5 separate regions of the Homo sapiens genome follow, and all the other regions are linked to region 5. The links are contacts of gene promoters, found by promoter capture Hi-C in human tissues and cell types (Jung and others, 2019). All regions are on one chromosome and are shown on one strand. The core of a region is centred on a gene start or on the middle of the fragment in contact, and the rest is flanking DNA. Distances in the headings are between cores, read along the strand shown.

What was found. Contacts are between HindIII fragments. The study calls those that stand out against the background at their distance.
Region 1: a contact is called between a fragment that was not itself captured here and the fragment with the promoter of SALL1 in region 5, in 2 of the 25 tissues and cell types used here (H1 embryonic stem cells and dorsolateral prefrontal cortex).
Region 2: a contact is called between a fragment that was not itself captured here and the fragment with the promoter of SALL1 in region 5, in 2 of the 25 tissues and cell types used here (dorsolateral prefrontal cortex and hippocampus).
Region 3: a fragment that was not itself captured here is called in contact with the fragment with the promoter of SALL1 in region 5 in 3 of the 25 tissues and cell types used here (H1 embryonic stem cells, mesendoderm cells and thymus).
Region 4: a contact is called between a fragment that was not itself captured here and the fragment with the promoter of SALL1 in region 5, in 2 of the 25 tissues and cell types used here (H1 embryonic stem cells and mesenchymal stem cells).

The regions. Positions count from the first base shown.
Region 1 is chr16:51,430,084-51,432,783 of GRCh38, reverse strand. All of the region lies in intron 2 of LOC102723323 (a long non-coding RNA gene), which reads left to right. Among named protein-coding and RNA genes, the nearest start is that of HNRNPA1L3, 210 kb to the left of the region's middle. The HindIII fragment of the contact is 3,903 bases long and covers 1-2,700 here.
Region 2 is chr16:50,836,339-50,839,038 of GRCh38, reverse strand. No RefSeq gene overlaps it. Among named protein-coding and RNA genes, the nearest start is that of LINC02128, 2.4 kb to the left of the region's middle. RefSeq lists an enhancer at 1,852-2,700. The HindIII fragment of the contact is 9,915 bases long and covers 1-2,700 here.
Region 3 is chr16:51,455,139-51,457,838 of GRCh38, reverse strand. The region is part of intron 2 of LOC102723323 (a long non-coding RNA gene); the gene reads left to right. Among named protein-coding and RNA genes, the nearest start is that of HNRNPA1L3, 190 kb to the left of the region's middle. The HindIII fragment of the contact is 3,931 bases long and covers 1-2,700 here.
Region 4 is chr16:51,471,661-51,474,360 of GRCh38, reverse strand. All of the region lies in intron 2 of LOC102723323 (a long non-coding RNA gene), which reads left to right. Among named protein-coding and RNA genes, the nearest start is that of HNRNPA1L3, 170 kb to the left of the region's middle. The HindIII fragment of the contact is 3,503 bases long and covers 1-2,700 here.
Region 5 is chr16:51,149,875-51,152,574 of GRCh38, reverse strand. It overlaps SALL1 (spalt like transcription factor 1), which reads left to right and starts at 1,305. Exons shown (of 3, transcript NM_002968.3): 1 at 1,305-1,409. The coding sequence starts at 1,334. RefSeq lists an enhancer at 1,608-2,108. The HindIII fragment of the contact is 9,229 bases long and covers 1-2,700 here.

The DNA.
Region 1 (2,700 bases), core at 51-2,550, 280 kb before region 5:
GGCAGGGATTGGGTGGGGCTATAGGCTTACAGAAATTACAAACTGTGAAACAGTCCCTGTCCAAAGTCATGGGCAAATGGGTGCCTACAGACACTTAAACAAACAACAATATTAGTGATCGTTTATTATAAAGACTAAGAGTGCGATCTCTGAGCCAGGCTTTCTGAGATGCAATTTAGTCTCCACCACTAAACAGCTGTGTGACCTTGGGCAGATCTCTTACCTGTCTGTGCCTCACTTTCCTCATCTATGAAATGGACATGAAAACTATACCTACTTCATAGAGTTGAATGAGATGATATGTCTAAAACATTTAGAATAATGCCTAACACATTATAATATTATGTAAACTTTATCTTAAAAACTAATGAATGAAAATTATAATTTGATGTGCTAACTATGGACCAAGCACTGTGCTAAGAAGGGTTTTACACTGATTATCTATCTCATTTCACCCTCACAAGGAAATGCACCCATCAACCCTGGAGACGTTACTTGGCCTTGGTTGTAAATTGGGGTTAATGAAGTACCATCCTATAACATTGTCAAAAGGAAACAATGAGTTAATATGTGTAGAGTAGTTAGGGCTAGGCCAGTACAAAGTTAAGGGCTTAGCAAGAGAAGTTTACAAAGTTTAAATAGTTTGCCTGGATTCACATGGCCAATTGATAAGGGTTGAATCATTATTTAAACCCAGGCATGCAATTACTACCTTACCACAGTGACTGACTGAAAAGAATGCACAACCAGGCGCAGGTCTACGCAAAGCTTTGTGAAAGCACAAATCCTTCAGTTGCGCCTGGGAGGATCAGGGGAGTTTATATAGAGCAGATGATCCTACCTTCCTTCCTTCCTTCCTTCCTTCCTTCCTTCCTTCCTTCTTTCCTCTTTTTCTATGACAATGGCAGTAGACATTCATTTACTTTGGTTCAGTGCAATAGTAATGACTCGGTATACACTAAAAGAATGTTACAAACTCCTGTGGGTCAAGAGACACGATCGTTTATCACAGGCCAAGATGTAGTCACACATCACGTGATCACACAGGCTGGTAACTGGCTTCAGTGGTGGTTGGGCTGACTCAGCCTGAAGCAAGAGGAAAGCAAATGTGGTTAATTAAGACTGCAGGGAATGTTTAGACTGTGTGCAACCGATACCCCAGCCACCGTCTCCATGTTTTCCTGCAGAGGAAATTTGCATACAACTCAAATATTACTATACTTCCTAAAACCCTTTCAGATATTGTCAGGGAAGGAATTGAGAGGAAGGACTTAGCACTTTTAGAATTATCCCAGTGGCACGCTTAAAGAGTGGTGATTGATGAGAAAGGACAAGTAGTAATTCCCAAATTATGCTTCTATTTATACTTCAATTACAACATTGCGAGAAGAAAACAAGACTTGTTCCCTTCATAACCTCCGTAGAACTGGGCTTAGTGTCTCTCACATAGATGATGCCCATAAGGAATGGTGAACCAAGGGGTGAAATCGAGAGAGACTTTATCATATCTTTGATAGAATGACAGAGATCTCTCTTGGCTCTTTAGGGAAAGATCACAAAATAAAAACACACAAAGTACAAGAAGTTTTCTTTCCTAATGACTAGTAGGGCAGAACCTATTGGGTAAACATGCCCTGGAGCTGTTTTTAAACTCTAAATAAAAGACAATTCACCCTCCTGCTAATTCTTCTTTTAGCTTCCAAAATCAGCCAGTTGGCACAAGACACTAAAACATACCTAGTCCCAGCTTGACCTCGTTAAAGAAATCCTCTATAAGTACAACTCCTAAAGCAAGTCATGCTCCCAAGCAGGTTTGGAGTGACAGTAGTTCTATAAGCTCCTCCAAGAAATAAGGGTTCTTGTTCCAGTAAGTAGAGAAATGCTGCAACAATAACCCTTTCTTGGAGAATCACAATGCACACTATTCTGTTAAAGCATCTGCAACAACAGAAAAATGTATTCAATTGTGTTTAACACAATGATGCCCAAATATATTTGGCCATAAAATTCTAAAACATGTATTTGTATTTTAAATATATCTTTTAATTTACACCTATGTAATAACTATGTCTATATCTATAGAGAAATGGATATATATATCCTGAAGAAATGGTTTCTAATAAAACACACATAACAGAATACTGGTCTTGATTAGATTGTGTTGGTTGTATTGAAGGTGAGCTTAGGCCACAGGTGAGTAAGACCCTGCCCTCCAAGTAGCTACTGTTTGTGATGTCTATGAGAGGCTTTAATGGGGAGAAGATAATGTGCTATTGGAGGAAAGAGAAACTCTGGGTACAGGAATTAATGAAAACGGGAACACAATGAAAGTGGAGAAAGACAGCAAGACTTCTGAATTTATAACACCAGCCTCACCCTCCTCCCATACTTATATGCCCCAAAGAGCTGATTTTGAGCCCTGAGGGTTAAGAGCTGATTTTGAACCCTAATTTTGAGCAGGATGGTTAAAAACAAGAACTATATTCCTGACCAGGTGCGGTGGCTCATGCCTATAATCCCAGCACTTCAGGAGGCCGAGGTGGGTGGATCACCTTAAATCAGGAGTTCGAGACCAGCCTGAACAATATGGTAAAGCCTTGTCTCTACTAAAAATACAAAAATTAGCTGGACGTGGTGGCAGGCGCCTGTAGTCCCAGCTATTTGGGAGGCTGAGGGAGGGGAATTACTTGAACCCGGGAA
Region 2 (2,700 bases), core at 91-2,590, 310 kb after region 5:
GAGTTATGGGGAGTGGACCAGCCAGAGTTTTCACATAGTTCATTGAACCTAAGACACAGTTTTAGCCTATGAAATAAAGTACGCTGTAATAAATTCAGGAAATCCCAAGTCAAGTTCTTTCCTTCTGGCCTGCGACTTAGTAATCAACATGGTTATTCCCTGCTACTTAAGGAAAACCCATGGTTCTGAAGGACAGTGGTAGTATATAGGTAAAATCTTCCAGAAAACAAGTGTGTTGGTTTTTTTGTTTTTGTTTTTTGAGACAGGGTCTCGCTCTGTCACCCAGGCTGGAGTGCAATGGTGCAGTCATAGCTCACTGAAGCCTCGAACTCCTGGGCTCCAACTATCCTCCCACCTCAGCCTCCCAAGTAGCTAGAACTACAGGTGTGCACCACCAGGCATGGCTGGTTTTTTAAATATTTTTTGTACAGACAGTCTTGCTGTGTTACCCAGGCTGGTCTCAAACTCTTGATCTAATGCAATCCTCCTGCCTCAGCCTCCCAAACTGCTAGGATTATAGGCATGAGCCACTGTGCCTGGCTGTGGTTTTTTTTAAGTGCATAGATTTTTTTTCTAAGTGGAATGTTGTAATAAGTTGGCCTTTGCCAGGAAATCTATCTTGATGTCATATTTTCCACGCAGGCCCAGGGTACCTTGTCAGTAGATCTCTAATTTCCTGGAAGTCAATTACCCAATCAACTGAGCAGCAAAGACAGTGATCTTGGGCAAGTTACTCACTGTGCTTCCATTTCCTCACCTGTGAAACAGGGACAACACCAGGACATGTCTTTTAGCATTGTTGTAAGGATGAAACCAGTCCAAAACTGACCCTGATACATGATGAGCGCTCACTAATGTTAGCTATCATTAATCACCATTGTCATCACCATAACTCATCATTGCCAGCAGACATTTTATTTTATTAAGAATGCTTTTTTAAATTCAGTGCCAGTACTAAAACATTAAAACAGTAGACATATAAATTTAGAATCCTAGTTTTTGTTTAAAAATCCAAACCTCAGTGGGGCACAGTGGCTCATGCCTGTAATCCCAGCACTTTGGGAGGCCAAGGAGAGAGGATCACTTGTGTCCAAGAGTTCAAGACCAGCCTGGGCAACATAGTAAGACTCCATCTCTACAAAAAAAAAAAAAAAAAAAAAAAGGTTGGGTATGGTGGCACGCACCTGTAGTCCCAGCTACTCAGAGGCTAAGGTCGTGGGATTGCTTGAGCCCAGAGGGACTACAATTGCTGCAGTAAGCTGTGATCGAACCACTGCACTCCAGTCTGGGCAACAGAGTGAGATCATGTCTCAAAACAAAAAACAAACAAACAAACCAAATAAAAACAGGAAAAGAAAAATATAGTAAAATAAAATTAAAACTTAAGCCTCTGGGTCCACCAGGCCTGCATTGGCCCAAGGCAACCTGTAGTGGCTGCCCCTCCAGGCAGAGAGGCATGTGCCCTCCAGCTTGCCACCGTCCCCATCCAGCTCACTAGCCCATCTCCATTGCTGCTTGGCCCCCATGTGATCCTGAGGGTGAGAACCTTGGCATCCTGCTGATAAACAGATAGGAAGACTGAGGCCCAAAAAGGAAAAAGGTGCTGCCAGCCCTGGGCCCCAGGAGCCACATGCCCCTGAGCCCTGGCCCAGAGCCCTTTCCACGATCCCATGTTAAATTCCTTTGGCCCATAAGACCAGAGGGAGGCTGAAGTCTCAGCTCCAATTTTTCAAAGCTGAAAAAGACCAATCCCCTCCTACTAAATATAATGGGATTTCCAAAGATGGATGGAGACAGTAGTTTAGGGTGGGGCTGGGGTTGTTGCAGGAGTGTGTGGCATGTCTGGTGTTTAATGTTTCAGCCTCTCTTCTGCGTTCTTTTACATTTAGTGAATTACCAATATTAAGGCAAAATAGATCTATTAGACAATTACCTAAGGGAACTCAGCTGCTACCATAAAGCCAATGAAGTTATGACAGCAGGGCCCAGGAGGAATCAGAGCTGAGTAAAACCTGTCGAGGCTGCTGACAAATGATGATAAAGTGGTCGCTTTTGCCAGTGCTCAATGGAAATTGACAAGGTGAGCCTCCCCACCTAATGAACAGATCCAACCCCTGTTCCCGATGAAATGCGCAGCAAGTTTAATCTCAATAAGCATCAAAATAAATTTGTTCCCACGTTTAGAGAGAGCACAGACATGTGGGCAGGAGCCATGGCCTTCATGGATGGGACCCAGGCTGTGGTGTAGGGGTGGCAGTGAAGGTGCTGGGGGCTTCCCCATCAACAGTATCTCAGGTACATCTGCCTAAAAATACCTCCATTGCCCATTCTGTCCACTCCCAGAACAGAAACTGAGGCTCAGATGGCACCTACGTCACAGAGACCCCAACCGCTCAGAGAGCAATTGTCTCCATAACTCCTATTAAATGTGCGCAGCTCTGATTCTTATAAAGTAATGTCAGTTACAGAACAATACCAGCCTGCCAGGCAAGACACATTAGAGGAACAAGGCGGGTGGCGTGGGGGTGGGGGGAGAGACACTCCCACCACCAACCCTCGGAATACAATGCACCAGCTGCACATTAATAAATATGTAATGTTTGATTAGAAATATGTATAGTATTTTTTTCCCTCCCCAAATGCCGGCTCGCCCTCAGGCGGAAGACGGGATCTGGCCCACACTGACGGGTTTCTTTCTTG
Region 3 (2,700 bases), core at 51-2,550, 310 kb before region 5:
GTTTTAAAATAAGATTGGAGGTTGTCAGGGCACAGAAAGAAGGATCCTGAGGTCTTAGAGTGGCAAGGTTCTCTTCGATTTTGATATTAATGTGGAATGACTTTGTAGAGCAGAGAAAGATTCTGGGCCTTACAGAAAGACATTTAAGAAGAAATCCTAAGGGCCGGGTGTGGTGGCTCATGCCTGTAATCCCAGCTCTATGGGAAGCCGAGGGGGTGGATCACGAGGTCAGGAGTTCAAGACCAGCCTGACCAACATGGTGAAGCCCCATCTCTACTAAAAAAAAAAAAAAATAGAACAGTTAGCCAGCCGTGGTGGCATTCACTTGTAATCCCAGCTACCCGGGAGGCTGAGGAGAAGTGCTTGAACCCAGGAGGCGGAGGTGAGCTGAGATTGTGCCACTGCACTCTAGCCTGGGTGACAGAGTGAGACTCTGTCAAAAAAAAAAAAAAAAAAAAAAAAAAAAAGAAGAAGAAGTCCTAGAGAATCAAGATTTCTGATGTCCATGATGCATCTCTGTCACCAGCAAAAGATGAGGAGAGATGGGGGCTGGGCCTGAAAACTTCATTTGGAGATGCCTCATCTCATGTCCCAGACAGAGGCCTTCTCTCAAAGCACCACTTCTGCAGCGTGGGCACTGCAGAACCTTTGAAGTCACAGATTCTTCCAGGCCTTAGACATCATTCTGTCCTTGCTAAGGCACCTGAGCATGTGATTCAGCCTCTCTGCTTTTGCTTTTCTTTCATTCTCTTCTACTCAGCATTTTGTAGCAAGTTAAAGCTTGATTTTCAGTGCCATTGTGTTTTTTTTAAGGGCAGAAATTTTGATTTCCCAGTCCCTCTGAACTTCTTTCCAACAGTGATAACTGAAGCTTCTCAGGATGATCCCAGTATGTTCTCCGAAATATAAAAGATAAAGATATGTTGAGCCAGTTTTGTTTTGTTGGGTATTTTCTGATAGCAAAACTAATAATATTAGTGACTCTTTTTTTGCTTTATATGAATTACTTCATTTTGTTCTTCACAAAATCCTTCAAAGTATGTATTATAATTATCCCACCGTATGGAGGAGAATCCCTCAGATTAATGGAGTTAAATAACTAGGCCTGGACACATAGCTAATTGCTGGTACCTGTGAACAACAATTTGAATTGAAGCCTAGAGCTCTCCAAAGTCTAAGCTCTGACCCACCAAGCATACCAACACCTCCTCCATGCCTTAAACAGTGTTAGTCTGTACAGAGAGGACTTGACAACTCTGCTAATCAGAATATTTCTTGAACAACTAATGGAAGGGATAAAGAAAGAAAGGAGGAAGGCAGAAGGAAGAGAAGGAGGGACAGAGTGAGGGAGGAAGACACAAGTCACTGCTGCCTTGTGGGAGATGCACTGGACTTAGCATAGCTGCCCTGGTGTCCTGGTCACTGCTCTCCCCCTGTGGCTGAATGGCTTGGGACAGGTTGCCAGACCTCTATATGTCTTCACCATTAAAAGAGACGTTTAAGAAAGGATAAATTTCTTCTTCCTAAAGAACCTCTCCCAGTCCCTTTGTCCAATCCTGGCATCTCATTTTTCAATGCTTACATAGACCTCTCCTCTGGGGTCACCTGGCACAACAACGCTTTACTAACTGCCTTCAATTCTTAGGTCATACTGAGGCATTAGGCTTGCCAACCTGGTTGAAGTGTGAGATCTTAGAGAAAAAGAATCTTCTTTCCTCCTCCTTTATCTTCTTTTCTCCTCCTCTGCTTCCTTCCCCTGCTCCTCCTTCTTCTTCTCTGTTTTTCTTACAAGGGTTAAACAAGGGTCTATTTTGAGCTTAGCACAAAGTCTGTTCCCACTTTCTCCAAGTGTCCCACCTAAGTGCTGAAGCTCAGTAAATAAGCCCAATTGGAAGTGGATACATGATTAGTTAATTGTTCAGTGGCAAAGTTCTTACAGTTGATTTTCTCTGCAATCACTCTAGAAAAAGATAAGTAAAAGCCTTGGTTGGTGGGAAAGATGGTCTTTTTGAAGATAAAAAACATATTCAGAGGAATGTTTTTGGGTTAGTTCTTTTTTTTTTTTTTTTTTTTTGCACTTAGCATCTGACAAAGAGAGAGTCATTAATGCCATAGCGTGCATATGAGACTGTAATGAGATGATTCTCACCTGAGTGATTTCTGAGGCATTCATCTCATTGAATCTAAATACCAGGGATCCAGACTCCACCAAGATTTTAGACTTGGTCTGGTAAACAGGGTTTAATGACTAAGAAAACATGTAGAGTCCTCAAGGATATAAATCAAGCATCAGGACCCCAAACCAGTGATCTCCCACCACAGCAAGCTTTAGTCTTATTTGTAAAACTGTAGGATCCTCAAGCCTCCTCCCTAAGAAGAATCAGGAAGAGAATCCTAAGCCCAAACACTGATTTGTCTATTTCCTTGCCTGAGGAAAGATTTGTCTGAGGTGTTTCTGACGCTCAGATGGCAAATCGGGCCGCTCTGTGTGGACAAGTGTGTCTCTGAATGAGACTTTGGTATTTTTACGATTGGAGGTGGGGAAAGGTGAGGGCAAATGTTAGGAAGTGAAAGGTATCTTGGGACAATTCAAGTCAACCTTTTATCCAGTGTGGAGCCACCAGCCATCTTGTTTTTTGTTTGTTTGTTTTGCTTTGTTTATCTCCTTTGTCATCCCTGGCTCAAACTAAAGAGTTTGGG
Region 4 (2,700 bases), core at 131-2,630, 320 kb before region 5:
TAGAGTGAGACCCTGTCTCAAAAATAAACTAATTAATTAAAAAGTATAACAAAGTTGGAAGACTCACCATTTACAATTTCAAAATCTACTCCTAATTTACAGTAATTAAGACAGTATGGTAATGGCATAAGGATAGACCTATTGATCAATTTGATAGAATCAAGAACCAGAAATGGGCCCATACATCTATGGTCAATTGATTTTTGACAAAGTTACCAAAACCGTTCAATGGAGAAAGAATATTCTTTTCAACAAATGGCAATAAGACAATTAAGTAGCTACACGAAAAAAAAAATTTGGACCACTACCTCACATCATATATAGAAAATAAATTGGCCAGGCATGGTGGCTCACACCTGTAATCCCAGCACTATGGGAAGCCGAGGCGGTGGATCACGAGGTCAGGAGTTCAGGACCAACCTAGACAACATAGTGAAACCCCGTTTCTACTAAAAATACAAAAAAATTAGCTGGGCGTGGTGGTGGGCACCTGTAATCCCAGCTAACTCGTTGGCTGAGGCAAGAGAATTGCTTGAACCCAGGAGGCAGAGGTTGTAGCCAGCGGAGATCATGCCACTGCATTACAGCCTGGGCAACAGTGCAAGAGTCCATCTCAAAAAGAAAAACAAAAAAGAAAATAAATCAAAAAGGAATCAAAGACCTAAATTTAATATCTAAAATAATAAAGATGAAAACATAGGTTTAAATCTTTGTAACCTTAAATTAGGCAATAGTTTCTTAGATATGACACCAAAAGCACAAGCAACCAAAGAAAAAAATAGATATGTTAGACTTCAACAAAATTTAAAACTTTTGTGCATCAAAGGACACAATCAAGAAAGTGAAGAGATAATACACACAATGTCAGAAAATATCTGTCAATCATATCTCTGATAAAGGTCTAGTATCCAGAATGTATAAAGACCTTTTACAACTCAACAATAAAAAGAAATAAAATAAATTTTTAAATGAACAAAGGATATGAATAAACGCTTCTTCAATGGTAATTTACAAATGGCCAAAAAGTACGAAAAGTTGCTCAATATCATTTGTCCTTAGGGAAATGCTAACCAAAACCACAAGATACCACACTGCATTCCCTAACATAGCCCCTTATAAAATAAACAAAACAACCAGAAGATAACAAGCATTGGCAGGAATATGGAAAAATTAAAGCCCTGATACCCTGAGAGTATAAAATGGTGCTGTCACTGTGAAAAACAGTTTGTTGATTCCTCAAAAGAATAAACAATTAACCATACGATCCAGCAATTCAACTCTTGATCTATACCCAAGGGGATTGGAAACATATGTTCATACAAAAATGTATACATGATGTTCACAGAACATCATGGAGCATTATTTATGAAAAACAAAATGTGGAACCCACCCAGATGCCCATCAACTGATGAAAGGGTACATAAATATGGTATAGACATGCAACGGAATATTATTCAGCCATAAAAATGAAGCTTGATATATGCTATAGTGGATAAACATTGAAAATATGCTAAGCAAAAGAAGTCGACACAAAATGTCACATATCATGTCATATAATTCTATTTGTTTGAAAAGTCAAGAAATAGAAAATCCATAGAGACAGAAAGTGAATTACTGCTTGCCAGGAGTTGCAGGGAGGAGAGTGGGAGTGACTGCAAACAGGTGTGGAGTTTCATTTTGGGGCGGTAAAAATGTTCTGGACCTAGATAGCAGTGACGTGGCACAATCTCGTGAATATACTAAAAACCACTGGATTGCATACTTAAAAATGGTAAATTTTATGGTTTGTGAATTATATTTCAATTAAAATTAATAAATGTATGAAAACAATGAATCACAAACTTAAATGTAAGATGTACAACTATGAAACTTTTTTTTTTTTGAGACGGAGTTTTGCTCTTTCTGCCCAGGCTGGAGTGCAATGGCATGGTCTTGGCCCACTGCAACTTCTGCCTCCCAGGTTCAAGTGATTCTCCTGCCTCAGCCTCCCAAGTAGCTGGGATTACAGGTGCACGCCACCACGTCCGGCTAATTTTTGTATTATTAGTAGAGACGGGGTTTGGCCATGTTGGCCAGGCTGGTGTCGAACTACTGACCTCATGTGATCCGCCCACCTCGGCCTTCAAAAGTGCTGGGATAATAGATGTGAGCCACCGCGCCCGGCCACCACTTAAAAAAAAAAAAAATAGGCTATAGCCTTTGGGATCTGGGGATGTTCAACATCATCAGCCATTAGAAAAATTACAATGAGATATCACTACACATCTCTCAGAATGCTAAAATTAAAAAGATGACAACACCAAATGCTGGCGAGGGTACAGAGAAACTAGGCCATTCATATATTGCTGGTGGGGATGTGAAATGGCACAGCCAATCTGAAAAACAGTTTGTTAGTTTCCTTAAGAACGAAACATGCAATCACCATAGGGTCTAGCAATTGCACTCCTGTGCATTCATCTAAGATTAACACTTCTGTTTACACACATCTGTATGCAAATGTTTATAGCAGCTTTGTTTATAATATCTCCAAACTGAAAGCAACCTAAATATCTTTCAACGGGTGAATGGTGAAACAAATGTGGTACATCCATACCATGCAGCTCTACTCAACAATAAAAATGTACTATTTATAGATGCAGCAAGCTGCATACGTTTCTAGAGCAATATGTTGGGTGAATGAAGCCAATTTTAAAAGAGAAC
Region 5 (2,700 bases), core at 56-2,555:
GCTGCTGCGCTCAGTGTGAGCCGCAGCCCCTCCCCTCCCCCCGGCCGGAGCTGAACTCGGAGCCCAGGCCGGTCCCCGCTCTCCGCCCGCCCGGGGCTCTGCGGCGCCACCGCTGCCGCCGCCTCCCCGCGGAGTGACGCGCCCTGCAGCCAACCGGGGCAGCCGGGGGGGAGGTCCGGGAGGGGTCCTGGGCGGAGCCGGGCCGCCCCCTTATCCCACGGGCTCGGGGCTGCTTCTCCCGAAAACTTCAGCCCTAATTGTCCTGGGAATGTCCGAGGTAGAGAAAGGGAGCGAGGGAGCAAGCAAGAAGCTGGAGGATCAGTGCCCCTGGCGGGGAGGGGATGGGGTGGCGGGAGAACTGCCCCTCCCCCCAGCCACAAACCCATCAGGTTCCCAAACCTTTCCTGGATCCTCTTCTCCGCGCCCCCGCGAGCCCGGGATCCAGGGGATGGAGAACTCGGGGCGGAGGAGCGCCGAGCCAGGCGGGAGGGAGGCCGAGCCGTGGGCGGGAGGCGGACCGGCGTGGGGCTGGCTCTTCCCCACTCGCTTATTTTTTTTTTTAATGGGGGTGGGGGTGGGCTGCTTTCTGGTAGCTCTTAAAGAAACGAAGAAACACTCACGAAACGGGACGCCCTCCCCCCTGATCCCGCCGCGGGACTCCCTCCCCCCGCGGGCCGGCGCGCCTCGCCCCCGAGTTGGGAAGTTCGCAGCGCGCCGGCAGCCCGGGTCCCCAGCCCTCGCCGCCCGGCCCCACCCCCCACCCGGGGCGGCTCAATTCCGGGGAGGGCATGCTAATTTGGGTCGGCCCAGCCCGGGATTGTGGGGGGGGGCGAAGGAGGGAGGGAAGAGGGAGGGGAGAGGGAGAGAGCGGGGGGCGCCTGCCGGGGCGCCGGGCCCGCAGTGGAGAGGAGGCCGGCCCCCGGCGGCCGGGCCGCGGAGTCCCGGGCGGTCGCAAAGAGGGTTAACCCAGTGTCGGGCGGCGCGGCGCGCAGAGCCAGCCCCGCGGCCGGCTTATTGGGCCAGCGCGCGGAGAGACAGGGGTCTGCAGCAAATCACGAACTAATTGATTAAGGCGAGCGGGTTTGAATAGCGCTGGCCCGGTGCCAATCGCCTTTCAAAGAGCCCCTCTATGATTAATCGCAATGCATTATTGATAATCATAATTATAGCAGGACACATGCGCGCTGCGCCCGGGGCCGGGGAGCCGGGGAGGGGGCGGGCGGGCCGGCGGGCGGGGGGAGCCGCCGCCGCCGCCGCCGCTCGATTTCCGTAATTTTGAGAAGATTTTTTTTTAGTAATTTTTTATTCTGCCCCAGCTGATGTTTGAGCCAGCATGTCGCGGAGGAAGCAAGCGAAGCCTCAACATTTCCAATCCGACCCCGAAGTGGCCTCGCTCCCCCGGCGAGATGGTGAGTGCTCCGGCCCGCGCCGTGGACACACACACACGCACTCACACTCACGCACACTCGGACCCACTCACACGCGGCTGGCCCCCGCGCCCCCTACCTCACCGCCGCCGCGGCCCCGATTGCTTCTTCCACTCGGCGTAATTTTTTTTTTCTTTTTAATTTTCAATGTGCCTTTGCTGGGCTTTCCCCCGCTGCCCCGGGGAAAGCGAGCACATCTCCCGGCAGGATCTTTCCGGAGTTGTTGGGTCCTCCCGGGGGAAGGAGGGCGGGCATGCCGGCCTGGCTTCTCCGTCCCTGCTTTTCCGGGGATCCCAGCCGCGGCCAAGACCCGGGAGCCCCATGAGGCGTGGGTGCGGGTGGAGGTCGCCCCGGCCTGACCGCACGGGGCCCCTAGCGCTCCCGGCGCCGGCCCCAGGGCACCCGGCCCGGCCTCCGCCGCCCGGCCTTGCTGCCAGCGGTAAGGAAGTTTACTTCGGGCGCTGGGCTGAACTCCGAGCGTGGGGGAGTTCGCTGCGCCCCCCTGCCCCCACGCACACTCCCCCTCGGCCTGCGAGGCAGAACCGGGTGTCTTTGGAGGTTCAGAGCTGCAAGAAGATGGGGACTGGTGTCGGGGCGCCAGCGCCTGACCCGCTGGGGTTGCGGCCGGGGTGGAGAGTGCTGCTGGCCGCCAGTTGTTCCGGAGACGGTGCAAACGGACGGGGAAAGTGTCGGGGTCTGGCTCGCAAAATTTATCTCCGCATCTCTTCCCACAACACTTGCACCCTCTGCCCCCCAAAATCTTTCTGGTCGGTATGCGCCCTCTGCGGATCGTGGTGCTCCCTACTTCCAGGGGGGTCAGGGAAGAAGTCATAGAATAGTTTTCCAGGTTTGCGGGTGGCCAGCCAGAGTGGAATCCCCCCTGAAACAGGGGCACTTGTTTTCTCCGATGGAGGCGACAACTGTGGGTCCCGAAGGGGCTGAACAAGTCCAGAACAAAGTTTGTGTGTGGGGGCTATGGCAGAGAGTGGAAGAGATCCGGGCAGGGAGTTGGGGTACAAAGGGAGGACACCTGGAATCCCTCCTTGCTCCTAAAGGTGTTTCACGGTACCGGCCTCAAAGCTCCCAGGCCTAGCGCCCGAGGCGGTGTAGCGGCGCCCGGACTCGGGTCCCCGGGTCGTCCCGGCACGATGCTGGCCTCTCGGCTGTGGGAGGACGCACAAGGAGCAATCTCGGCGGGGTCTCAGCGGCTCCGGATGCCACTCGGGATGCCCACGCCCTAGGCGGCATTTTGGGGTGTGAAGGAGGGAGCTGG